Linked DNA regions of Homo sapiens: region 2 is linked to region 1. The links are contacts of gene promoters, found by promoter capture Hi-C in blood cells and fetal thymus (Javierre and others, 2016). All regions are on one chromosome and are shown on one strand. The core of a region is centred on a gene start or on the middle of the fragment in contact, and the rest is flanking DNA. Distances in the headings are between cores, read along the strand shown.

Region 1 (6,073 bases), core at 1,492-3,991:
TGAGGTTACTTATCTCATGCTTGTTCAATTGTTTAAGTTCTTTATAGATTCTGGATATTAGACTTTTGTCAGCTGTGTAGTTTGCTCATATTTTCACCCGTTATGTAGGTTGTTGGTTTGCTCTGCTGATAGTTTCTTTTTGCTCTACAGAAGCTCTTTAATTTAATTAGGTCCCACTCATCCATTTTTGTTTTCATTGCAATTGCTTTTGAGGACTTAAGTTATAAATTGTTTCCTAGGGCCAATGTCCAGAATGTCATTTTCTAGGTTTTCCATAATTTGAGGTCTTACATTTAAATCTTTAATCCATCTTGAGTTAATTTTTGTATATGGTGTAAGGTAGGGGTCCAGTTTTATTCTTCTGCATATGGCTAGCCAGCTATCCCAGCACCATTTATGAAATAGGGAGTCCTTTTCCCAGGACTCCTGCCACCAGGATGCACTCCCTGCCCTGTTTGGTGTAGACCTCTGACTTCTATTGATAAATCTATTGTAACACTAAACACCTTGTGATATTGTGATCATTTATAGGTGGTACTCACTCTGTGCAATTTTATGGTAATTGAACTTATCTTTGTCAGATTGTGAACATCTCAATGAAAGTGATTGTGTTTTTTGTTTGTTTGTTTGTTTGAGACACTGTCTCGCTCTGTTGCCCAGGCTGGAGTGTGTTGTTGCAATCTCAGCTCGCTGCAGCCTCTGCCTCCTGGGTTCAAGCAATCAAGCAGTTCTCCTACCTCAGCCTCCTGAGTAACTGGGATTACAGGTGACCACCACCACACCCAGCTAATTTTTTTTTTTTAGTAGAGATGGGGTTTCACCATGTTGGGCAGGCTGGTCTCAAATTCTGATCTCAGGTAGTCTGTCTGCCTCAGCCTCCCAAAGTGCTGGGATTACAGACATGAGCCACCACTCCCGGCCATGATTGTGTTTTTTCAACTGCAATCTCAGTGTCTGACACATAATAGCTGTAAGTAAAATTACGTTGAATTAATGGAGAAAAAATATGTAATAATTAAAAGTTGAAGTATCCTTTCTGTTCCCTGGAAAAGACAAAGCAATGGAACTTGGGTTGAAAAGGCAAGAAATCTGTGAATCGCAATCCTGATGGTTAAAATGCTCAGTAACTAGACTCAAAAATTCCTTTGTGGTTTTAGTTGATGACTGTATAATCATTTGGAGACATCAATAATCACTGTAATCCCTCTAGTATGAGAATGTGTTTCAGAATCTGTAAAATGATGCATGATTTTAGTGGACTAGGACTAGGTTTTGTGGTAATAACTGGTCCTCAGCGTAATTTCTATTCCTTAGGAATTTCATAATTATTTCTATTCTCCCAGAATCTTTTCAATAGAAATGATACTGGGAGTACAAGTCAGCTAAGCCAAGGGAAAGCATTAGAGTATATGACTAAGAGCCCAGACAACACATAGTTCAGATTCCACTTCTACCACTTACTGGATAGGTGACTTTATCTGCTTAATCTTCTTAATCTATACAATGAGGGGACAACTGATTCTTAATCTTTTGAATTTTGCCTTTAAAACCCCAAATTTTCACCTGCAAAATGATTGTAAATGCATAATACATGAGTATCATAAAGACTAATAAAATAACAAGTACAGTAGATTTAGGAGAGTACCTGTATTAGTCCATTTTCATACTATCACGAAGAAATATCTGAGACTGGGTAAATTAAAAAGAGGTTTCATGGCCTCACAGTTTCACATGGCTGGGGAGGCCTCACTCTCATGGTAGAAGGTGAAGGAGGAGCAAAGACACATCTTACATGGAGGCAGGCAAAGAGAGCCTGAGCAGGGGAACTGCCCTTTATAAAATCATTAGATCTTATGAGACTTATTCACTATAATGAGAACAGCATGGGAAAAGCCCGCCCCTTGATTCAATTATCTCCCACTGGGTCCCTCCCACAACACATGGGGATTATGGGAGCTACAATTCAAGATGAGATTCAGGTAGGGACACAACCAAACCCTATCAGTACCTAAAACTTAATAAGCAGCTCAGTTGATATTAGTTATTTTATTGGTTATAAGTATGATTTTTAGACATGCCCAGTTTAGCCTTACTACCACCAGTGACAGATCCTAAAATTGTATCCTTTGGGTCTTGAATCCTTCTTCCACACTCCTCATTGCCAGTTATGACACAAATACCCCCAAGGATCTAAAAATTATTGTGCTTATATTGTCAGACATTCTTATTTCAGGATAGTTCAAACTTCCTGAGAGTACACTTGTGTGAGGAATAGAACATAAAATAATGGAAAAGAGAATGCTATATAGTAATTAGGTTGAATTAGAAATTGCTTTACATAACCACATTATGTATGTGGGGGAAAAATAACATTCTTAATAACTTTTTTCCTACAACTGTATATATATAAAAATATATTTAAACATATATTTATATATCATATCCGTAATGTAAATAAATGTCTAGCATGTTTTTCAAGACTCATTAATGCAGTTGCCTCTTTCCTTGTAGCTTATCTGGCTATAGTAATATGTTGGAAATGTACTACTTTGGAGTGGGGAGTATGGCAAAGGAGAGCAAAACAATAGTTCAGATCAAGTAATCTTAGAGCCAGGAGGCAGCCAGGACTTCCGCCTGCTGGGCCATTGTTGCAGGACCACAGCTTCGAGGTTGCGCAACACCTTTAGTAAACACTTCCTGAATCAGAGACAAGAATGAACCAGGGAGTTTCATTCTGTCTCACTGGAGAGGAGGCAGGGACAGACCCAGCAGCACCCACCTGAGCGAGAAGAGCAGACACCGTGCTCCTGGAATCACCCAGCATGTTGCAAGGTCTCCTGCCAGTCAGTCTCCTCCTCTCTGTTGCAGGTACATATTTAGCTCTTTTTCAGGTTCTATTGAATGCATTAGCGAACTTTTCATAGTCTCCTAATAGTTTTATTGTATAAACTATTTTGACTTTTTTCTTTTTCTTTTTTCTCAATCAATCTTACTAACCAGTTGGGCTGGTTTTAACCTGTTGTTTGGGGGCTGCGAGTGATACAAAGACAATGTTAAAAAGAGGCAACAAGAGGTCTTGAACCAATATGTATGCATCTCATCTGAGAATATACAGAAATAAAAGGGACAATTTCATACAGCACAATTTAAATCATGAATATGATTTTTGACTGAAAAAGTGGAATTCATCAAAACCCAGCTTGTCATTTAAAGAATGGTAAAGATGTGGCAGATTTATTTATTTATTACTGTGTACAAGGCTTAGGAAAATACCTACTATTATTATGGGAGCCAGTTTGGCTCTTTCTGTTTGAGTGTATATTTTTGTATTTACTCATTATTAGTAATAATACGTGTGACTAACTGGAAATAATTAATATTTTTTATTTATAAGGTACTGTGATATTACTTAACAAAATATCTCTGTTAAGCTTAAATTGATAATTTACTTCTATTTTGCTGATTATACCAAACATTTAAAAATTTGAAAGGAGAAAAATACTACTTCCTAACAGGAAATTATGTCTAGCAAGTCTCTCAATTTCTGGTAAATTCTCTAATTAGACTTTGGTTAAATTAGATTGGGTATTGTGATTCTTCAGCTTCTATTTCCAGAGCTTATTTAACTCAGCACATGAACTGCAGTGCCTCGAATTCCTCCCAGTAAACCTGTTCTTGGGTCTTAGAATGTTTGCTGGGACCTGGGGATGGGAACAGATTATCAACTAGAGGTATGGGCTTAGGGAGGGAAAAGTTTTCCTTGTCCATGCACCCTCTTAGTACTTTGTTGCTAAAAATGATTTTCCTGTGTCTCACCTGTTTCTGATTTGTTTTCAAGACTTATAAAAATTTCACTTAACCTAATATCTTTAAATATCGAATTATTTTCCTTTTGTTTCTGTGTATTTTTGCTTTATATAATATGTACCTATATCTGAACTGAACCTTTTCCCACTGTGCTGTGATCCTCTTCATCTCTAATGCCTTTTGCTTTGATACCTATTTTGTCTGATGTGAACGTGTTACACCAGCTTTCTTTTGGTAAAATAAGCCTGAAATATTAAAAATATATATAAAACTCATGCCAGGCATTTAACATTGACCTGAAATTCCTACTTTTTGAGGCAGACTTAATAGAAATGTTTTTTTCTCTCCGTTCTCCAAAAATGCTATCACCAAGAGCTTTTCCAGAACCCCCTCTAAGCTGAAATACAAGAACTGCTTGGGCACTAGCTTAGTTGAAGAGCGTAAAGATCAAGCTGGATCCATTAACAGAGTCACATGGCTAACACTGGGGCCCATGCACATTACAGTCCTTTTGTGCAACTGGGCACACTAATCAGTTCTGCTGCCCCGACGGTGCATGTATAACATGGCACCAAGAGATGCAACTTCCTCTGATGTCAACTCTAAAAGTGTGATGTCACCCCTCCTTTAACTTCTAGCTTCTATTTTTAAGGGTGTCTTTTTGCCACTGAACTATCCCTGTTATGATTCCCATTTGGGTTGCCTTTCTAGTCAGAATATAAGAAGTAAAGCAATTTTCATTTCCCAGTTCTTCCTGTTTGTTCTCTGCCCCCATCATCAAAGCAATACATATGTGCCCCTCTGACCATGACTTCTGCCCAGTCCCCAGATGGTTGAAATAAAAGAAAGAGATGTAAAATAAGGCTGGTTGTGTGCAGTGAACTTCACAATCCCGAGAAAAAATTGACTTATGGGATTTCATCCTAGGAAAAGGAAAAACAAATATTTAAAAGGATGTGACAGGTGTTTGCGGGGTGAAGATGTAAATGATTGCATCAACAAAGGAGAAAGGTGCTTACCTTATTACAGCAGAATACTCAGGGGGTACAGCACTTTTTGAAATTATTTTATTTCAAACTACCAGTTCTTCCTTGCCTTTATAAGGTAACTGGAAGACTGAAAAGAAAATATACAGTTTAATCTAAATAGTCAAAATAACAGACCTAATAGAAATGCAGTTTTTTCCCTTTTGTTTGTACTCACTTTTAATGCATGAAGTTTAAAACCACAAGATGGTTTGAGGAGATGCAGAGAATCCCAGGACATAAGTCAATATCCTTGTGTAAACCCTAATTCAGCGTTTAATATGATGTGTTCAGTTTGGAAAGAAGACATTTCTTTGAACAGTTTCAAACACATTTGAACGAAAATGAAAATGTCAATATTACATACTCATGTTCCCATTTCCAAAATGACCCCAAACACATGAACAAATAATGTAGCAATCCAGACTAATGTCTCTCATATTAACGTTGTTAATGAGCTTTGGCTTTTCTAAGACTCAAAACAGTCAAAAATAATTATCCCATCTAAACCAAAATAACAGTTTTCTTTTTCCTGATCTGGTTTTGCTAGTCAAGACTAATCCAGTGTGTGAGTTCTGTGGGAGAGAGAAGGCAAGTATTAAAATGAATTAGTAAAAACATATTGTGTTACACCTTGGATTTGTGTAATCCCTGGATGGCAGTTAGTTGTGTTTGTTCCTCAGGCTTCAAAAATAATTAACGTGATGTTATTCAGTGGGGAAGACGCTGCACCATTTCCATTAAACTTAAGGATGGATGAGCTAAACAATATTTAGGTCTGTTACATCCCTACAATGGCTGTGTAATTTGTTGTATTCCAGATCCCATTATTTCAGGGACTTCTAGGTTTCCAGAAAATAAGAGCCTTTAAGAGAAATTCCATTTAGTTTCTTTAGAGAATATATGGAGTGACAGGAGTTTGGAAGGAGCTGGAATTCCATTCACTTCAAACTGAAGAGATTGAGAGGTTGCCAATGATTTCTAAAAGAAATGTTGTGGGTTTTTTTTTGTTGTTGTTGTTGTTTGTTTTATTTTGCTTTGTTTTTGGTTTCCATTTGGAAGTGTTCGGCCACCAAAAAGTTGGAAATAAATTACATAACTTACATATTTTAAGCCCATATTTAAGAGCCAGTTTGCAATTTCTAATTTCATGAAACATTGGGATTCAGATACTAACTAGAAGCATAGAGGTCAGGGTGCATGTGAGAGAAAATTTGTGTTGGCTAGATGAGCCTGTTTTC
Region 2 (6,073 bases), core at 2,361-4,860, 110 kb after region 1:
AGCAGTCTACAGATGTTGAATGGACATATCTTTTCCCAAGGGTTGTGTATCCCATTAATTCAACTTCCAGTCTCTTGATGCACAAATTTTAAAAACTACCAGGGCTCATTCTTTAAGATTTCCAAATATGCCAAGATAGAGCTTGCACGTATGATGACCTTATAATTTTAACTTAAAATAATTCCAACTGAAAATGAACCCATAGTTTCTAAAAATATTAATCTCATTATGTTGATGACAGGATCTTCTTATATTCCCATCATCAATCAACCAATCAATCTGTTTTTGCATATTTATGAATTACCTGTGAATGCCAGGCACTTTGCAAAGACTTTGGGATAGAAAAATAAATAAAACATACTTTGTTCTTGAAATGCTCACAAAGAAGGAGAGAAATATTTCCATAAAGCCCAGAAGCCTGCAACTACTTCCCTTCACTGGTTCATTATTATTATCTCTTGCCCCTCAATTCTCAATGCAAAATGAGTGGATAATTACAAATGGTGATGGCTGTCACTGCTGTCCTTTAGAACAACATTAAATGGCCACATGGAAATTGAAATCCTTCCAGCTCTGTGACTTAGGCTCTAGGAAGAAAAATGTCCAAATACCATAGTATGCATGCTCTACCACCCACCACATTTAATACAGGGCAGTCCTAAATGGTTGCCAAATTTGGAATTTCCATTGAGCTCGGTAATACAGTTAGATAAATCAGAGTCTCGTGTTTCTTTATCTTTATTCTGTGTTTCACGCAGAAGGCACCACACTGTATATCATATTATTTGAGTTTTCTTCTGATTACAGTTCAAAATTCCCAAAGGATTTCAGTACATCTTGCCGTGCACATTTTGAAAGATACCTTTTATCTCAGAAACCAAAGTGCCTGCTGCAAGCACCTATTCCTACAAATATAATGACAACACCAGTGTGTGGGAACCACCTTCTAGAAGTGGGAGAAGACTGTGATTGTGGCTCTCCTAAGGTATTATTTATTAGAATTATTGGGGCAGAAGAATTATGCAGTTTTCTTTTTGTTTTCCAATATTCTTTTGGAAATTCTTTCTAAAGACAAACTTGGCATCGTAGTTAAAAAGGAGATTTGTGCTTGTGTTTTTGCTACTGAATTTAGTAATCCTTTGAAAGGCATTTCAAAAACTAGGACTTGATTTTGACATAATTATATGAAGTTAAATGTAAAAAAGTAAATTGTTAACTATAACATGTCACTTGCAATCTTTCCAAAACGTGTATTAGTCAGAAATCCCTAGACGACATAATGTCACAGTTGATCATCTGTTGAACAGTAACAATTAGAGATCTAGAAGTAAGTTCTACTCAGAGGGAGAGTTGGTCTTTTCTCATCAAGCCAGTGTATAAACCAGGTTGTAAACAGAGAAGAAAGAGGAAAAGAAAAAATAATCACAAAAATCTGTAGAAAATAGGCTATTAACATAGAACATCCAGAATAAGCACTATGATTCTGCTAATTTATATAAATTAGACTCCTTCAAGGCATTTATGTACTCTAAAGAATGCTGATCACTAGCAATCCCATTGCCTTCTAAAAGATATTCTGTTGCTCCACTGGTGAAGCAGGATGCAGTCCAAGAAGTATCCATTACTTAAGATGGCTCTGTGACAATGAACATGGCGTCTAAACTCTCTATGCTTCAGTTTATGTATTCAGAAATTTTAGCTGGTTAGATTAGATCAGAAGACTACACAGCCTAACTTAGTCATTTGTGAAGAATATTGTAAACTTTCTGTTAATTATAAAGAGGCATGGAATTTTACAAAAGATTTGACATTTTATAGCAAATTAGAGTTACGTTTATCTCGTTCTTACTTGCTTACATTCATCTATGGTTTCTTGGGTGGAAGACAATTGAAGATACTCAAAACCCTAGGTACTTCTGGTTTCAGCAAGTAAATGGTATGTATTTACAGAGAAGAAAGGGGGAAAGGATGAAGGAAGAGGCCAAGAGAGGACCATTGTATACACAATATGTAACATCTAAAATTCTTGAATTATGTCAGTCAACTCTTGTATTATTTTCATATCTTGTTGATTTTTTTCTTATGTAATTGAATAAAACCAGAGAGTTCAGGCTTAGGAACAACTGAATTTCTAAATAACTGTTTTCTTTTCCAAAAAGTAGTATGTATACTTCATACAGTATTGTTTATTGAGTAATCCAATTTCTCATAGATCTGATATCCCAGTTTATTATTCCTAGGTATATAGTTAGGGTTTTTTTTTTAGATTTTAAAAATAAGCTTTCTGTCTAGATATTTCTCCCAGGCATCACACTATTTTAAAGATTGTAACTTGACAATGCGTTTTAATGTCAAGTCTCTTCATTGTTTTGTCGTTACTGTTTTAGCTGCAAATTTGCCCTCAAATACCATTGAGATTTGATGGAAATGCATTAAATTTATATTTAACTTTGAAGGGCACTGATATTTTTACAATATTAAGTATTGTCTTAAAAGACAAGTTGCCTTTAAAGTTTCTCAGGAAATGTATATATAAAGTTCTTCATGGAGTTCCTGCACTTTTGAAAGGCTTTCTAAATTATTTTCATATTTTTCTTTCTGCTGTATGTTCAATTTTTTTTAGTTTGGACTTACACATCATACATCTAGACAAAATTTATTTTTGAAAAATTCTTGAATAATTCTATTTCTCACCTTTTGAGAAGTCTTCATTGCTGATAATATTTTGTTTTCTATTTTTCAATGTCCTTGGTCATTTTCACTGGAATTTGCCTATCAGAGTAATTTACCTTAAAAAGTAAACTTTCATTGCCATCTTGTGCCAGAATTCTATCACCTAGTCTATGGGAAGAAAATGTTGAACCCACCTTTTTCCATTGTGTGTGTGCTTTGAAGGAGTGTACCAATCTCTGCTGTGAAGCCCTAACGTGTAAACTGAAGCCTGGAACTGATTGCGGAGGAGATGCTCCAAACCATACCACGTAAGACCTTTTGTTTTCTTTGTTCCAAAACGTTTTCTCACGTTTATTTCAGATTTGAGAAAAATATGCCACTGGGTTCCATAATACACTAAAACACAATGTATTTTATATTTTTCAAACGACTCAATTTTGGAGAGGAAAACTAGCAATCATTATGAGCATGACTAAGGATTGTAGACAAACACTCATGAGAAAGTAGCTACTTTGACATTTGTGAGATTAGGGCTGCTGGAATCTATGCCAAAAACTGTTTAAATTCCCGTTAGAGAACGATGAGTTTAATACAAACCAAAATGAGAAAAGAAAAGTGTATTTAAAAACAGCCTCAGTTGATGAGCTCATTTTATTCTTGGTTAAAAGCTGATAGTTTTAATTTGCAAGGCTGTCAGAAAATCAATAGCATTTAAGAACATGCTATAAGATTTGACAATTTTACTCCCTTTAAAGTGTCTCAATGAGCCATAATTCAGGTAGTAGTTCTGTGTCTTATACAATCCTATGTGAGCTGGGCTAGGGAACCCAGTTACTTGGAAAATGGTACTTGTTTCAGTGAAAAATAACCTCTAAATATAAAATGGCAACAAGAAAAATAAAAAATAGGGGAAAGACTCAGGATACATTTTCTTTACTCCTCTTTCCCAATTCTTTTCTGGAATTGAAACTGCAGAGACAGTATAAAGAAAATAATTGACTCAAGCACCATCAATTATCATTTCATAGGGAATGGATAGGCAAGGTCAAAGATAAGGACCAACGCTTGTTTATTTACCAAACACCATTTAATACAGCCTACATGAATCATGGAATGAATCCACTCTGCAGGGAATTCTGGAAACTGTGCCCAGGCCAGAAACATAGCATCACAAAAGAAAAAAAATCATCCAGCTATTTAAGGGCTTGGAACCCTAGGTGAACATGCCCCTTACTGTGCAAGATAGGCAATTTATACCATGGAAGAAAATTGGAGGTGGACTCAGGAAACTAAAATTCTAGTCTTTTCTGTCAGAAACTAGCTGTGGGACTTTAAGTCCAGATAAATTAGTTTTTTTCACTCATGAAATACAGCTAATGGTATAGTCTCTTAAATAATATGAATTGTTATTCACATAATTTAAATTCTATACATTTTCATTATCATTATTACATAATATTTTGTAACTTGTAATAACCCTGGCTTCCAAATTTTATTTTTCCTTCAATCAGAGAGTGAATCCAAAAGTCTGCTTCACTGAGATGCTACCTTGCCAGGACAAGAACCAAGAACTCTAACTGTCCCAGGAATCTTGTGAATTTTCACCCATAATGGTCTTTCACTTGTCATTCTACTTTCTATATTGTTATCAGTCCAGGAAACAGGTAAACAGATGTAATTAGAGACATTGGCTCTTTGTTTAGGCCTAATCTTTCTTTTTACTTTTTTTTTTCTTTTTTCTTTTTTTTTAAAGATCATGAATTTGTGACTTAGTTCTGCCCTTTGGAGAACAAAAGAAAGCAGTCTTCCATCAAATCACCTTAAAATGCACGGCTAAACTATTCAGAGTTAACACTCCAGAATTGTTAAATTACAAGTACTATGCTTTAATGCTTCTTTCATCTTACTAGTATGGCCTATAAAAAAAATAATACCACTTGATGGGTGAAGGCTTTGGCAATAGAAAGAAGAATAGAATTCAGGTTTTATGTTATTCCTCTGTGTTCACTTCGCCTTGCTCTTGAAAGTGCAGTATTTTTCTACATCATGTCAAGAATGATTCAATGTAAATATTTTTCATTTTATCATGTATATCCTATACACACATCTCCTTCATCATCATATATGAAGTTTATTTTGAGAAGTCTACATTGCTTACATTTTAATTGAGCCAGCAAAGAAGGCTTAATGATTTATTGAACCATAATGTCAATAAAAACACAACTTTTGAGGCTTTTCTGTGTGGTCATTTTCAAAACTGAGTATTTTCAAGCTTCTTTTGTAGGTTTGTGTTAGGTGCTGAAGCTCACATCATTGGAAAATCATCGCTCTGGTAATTTGATAATATTGTCACAGATAGCCAAGCAATGCTATATGAACATGAGAAGAGGAGGTTGTATCATCTTTTCATGCCCAAAATGGCATGATGTGAGGCCAGTCACACAGGAAGACTAGGCTTCTTCCTGAGGCTTCTTTCTTGAAATAATTTTTAACAATTAATGAAAGTTACCTAAATTTCCACAGATGCCTATGCTGGGAGACTAGAAACTTAGACATGTTTTTAAAGATTGGGCTTTGAAACCAAGGGCCTCCTGGGATGCCCTGCATGACAGTGTTGGCCATCTCCCCCTTCATGGCCTTGATGTCATCGATGGGCTGGCACTGCCAGTGTTTCCTGTGAAGCTGTATGCCAGGTGTGCATATCAGCCCGGCTGCAGCCCCAGGATATGCCTTGCCAAGATCTCCACTGCCCACGGGTTTGATACGAACTTCCAGCCAATTCTTCGAAGGAAAAAGGGCTTCTTAGGACATCCTTTCCACCCCACCCCCAACCCCTGACCTTGTGCTCAGGTAGGGGCTTCTTATAGCAAAACTCACTGAGCTGCAGGGATTAAAATCAGTGGCATGCTGGAGACTTCTAGTACAGGCTTGTGAATGTCAACTGTTAAACTTTAAGAAATATTGTGAGCTGGTTGCTAAACACGGCCACTACCGAAACCCAACGTGTATAAATTCATAATTAAATTCTAGCAAAAGCAAAGGAAATACTCAAAACATATCACTCCCTATTCTACTACATTTGACTCATCTATGCTCTATAGTTATTTAACTCTAACATAGTTATGTGATGTAAATACTATATAAGCATGTGCTACTGAGACCTCTTCCCTACTGTCTGGCCAGTGACATCACGTTGCAGTGGTATATGACAGGAGGACTTTAGCACAGAATAGCCAAATGCTACAAATCGAGGTTTGATTTATTGTTTTATTTATTGTCTATACTTAAGAAAGTGATGGAGTTTTAACTTAAAAGTAAGTCTTGTTTATAGCAATTAAAATGTGAAAGCATAAAATTTTGAAAGGATATTTTTTCATTATTTGAAAACTATCATCCAACT

The links. The method cuts DNA at HindIII sites, captures the fragments that hold promoters and counts their contacts. A CHiCAGO score of 5 or more calls a contact.
Region 2: a contact is called between a fragment that was not itself captured here and the fragment with the promoter of ADAM28 in region 1, in 1 of 17 cell types (total B cells). The highest score is 6.1, in total B cells.

What each region holds. Positions count from the first base shown.
Region 1 is chr8:24,291,328-24,297,400 of GRCh38, forward strand. It overlaps ADAM28 (ADAM metallopeptidase domain 28), which reads left to right and starts at 2,742. Exons shown (of 23, transcript NM_014265.6): 1 at 2,742-2,868. The coding sequence starts at 2,823. It overlaps ADAM7-AS1 (ADAM7, ADAMDEC1 and ADAM28 antisense RNA 1), which reads right to left. Exons shown (of 6, transcript NR_125808.1): 5 at 4,827-4,923; 6 at 4,487-4,730. The HindIII fragment of the contact is 10,253 bases long and covers 1-3,429 here.
Region 2 is chr8:24,401,108-24,407,180 of GRCh38, forward strand. It overlaps ADAMDEC1 (ADAM like decysin 1), which reads left to right. Exons shown (of 14, transcript NM_014479.3): 12 at 808-985; 13 at 2,896-2,981; 14 at 4,185-4,906. The coding sequence ends at 4,191. All of the region lies in intron 1 of ADAM7-AS1 (ADAM7, ADAMDEC1 and ADAM28 antisense RNA 1), which reads right to left. Among named protein-coding and RNA genes, the nearest start is that of ADAMDEC1, 20 kb to the left of the region's middle. The HindIII fragment of the contact is 2,665 bases long and covers 2,279-4,943 here.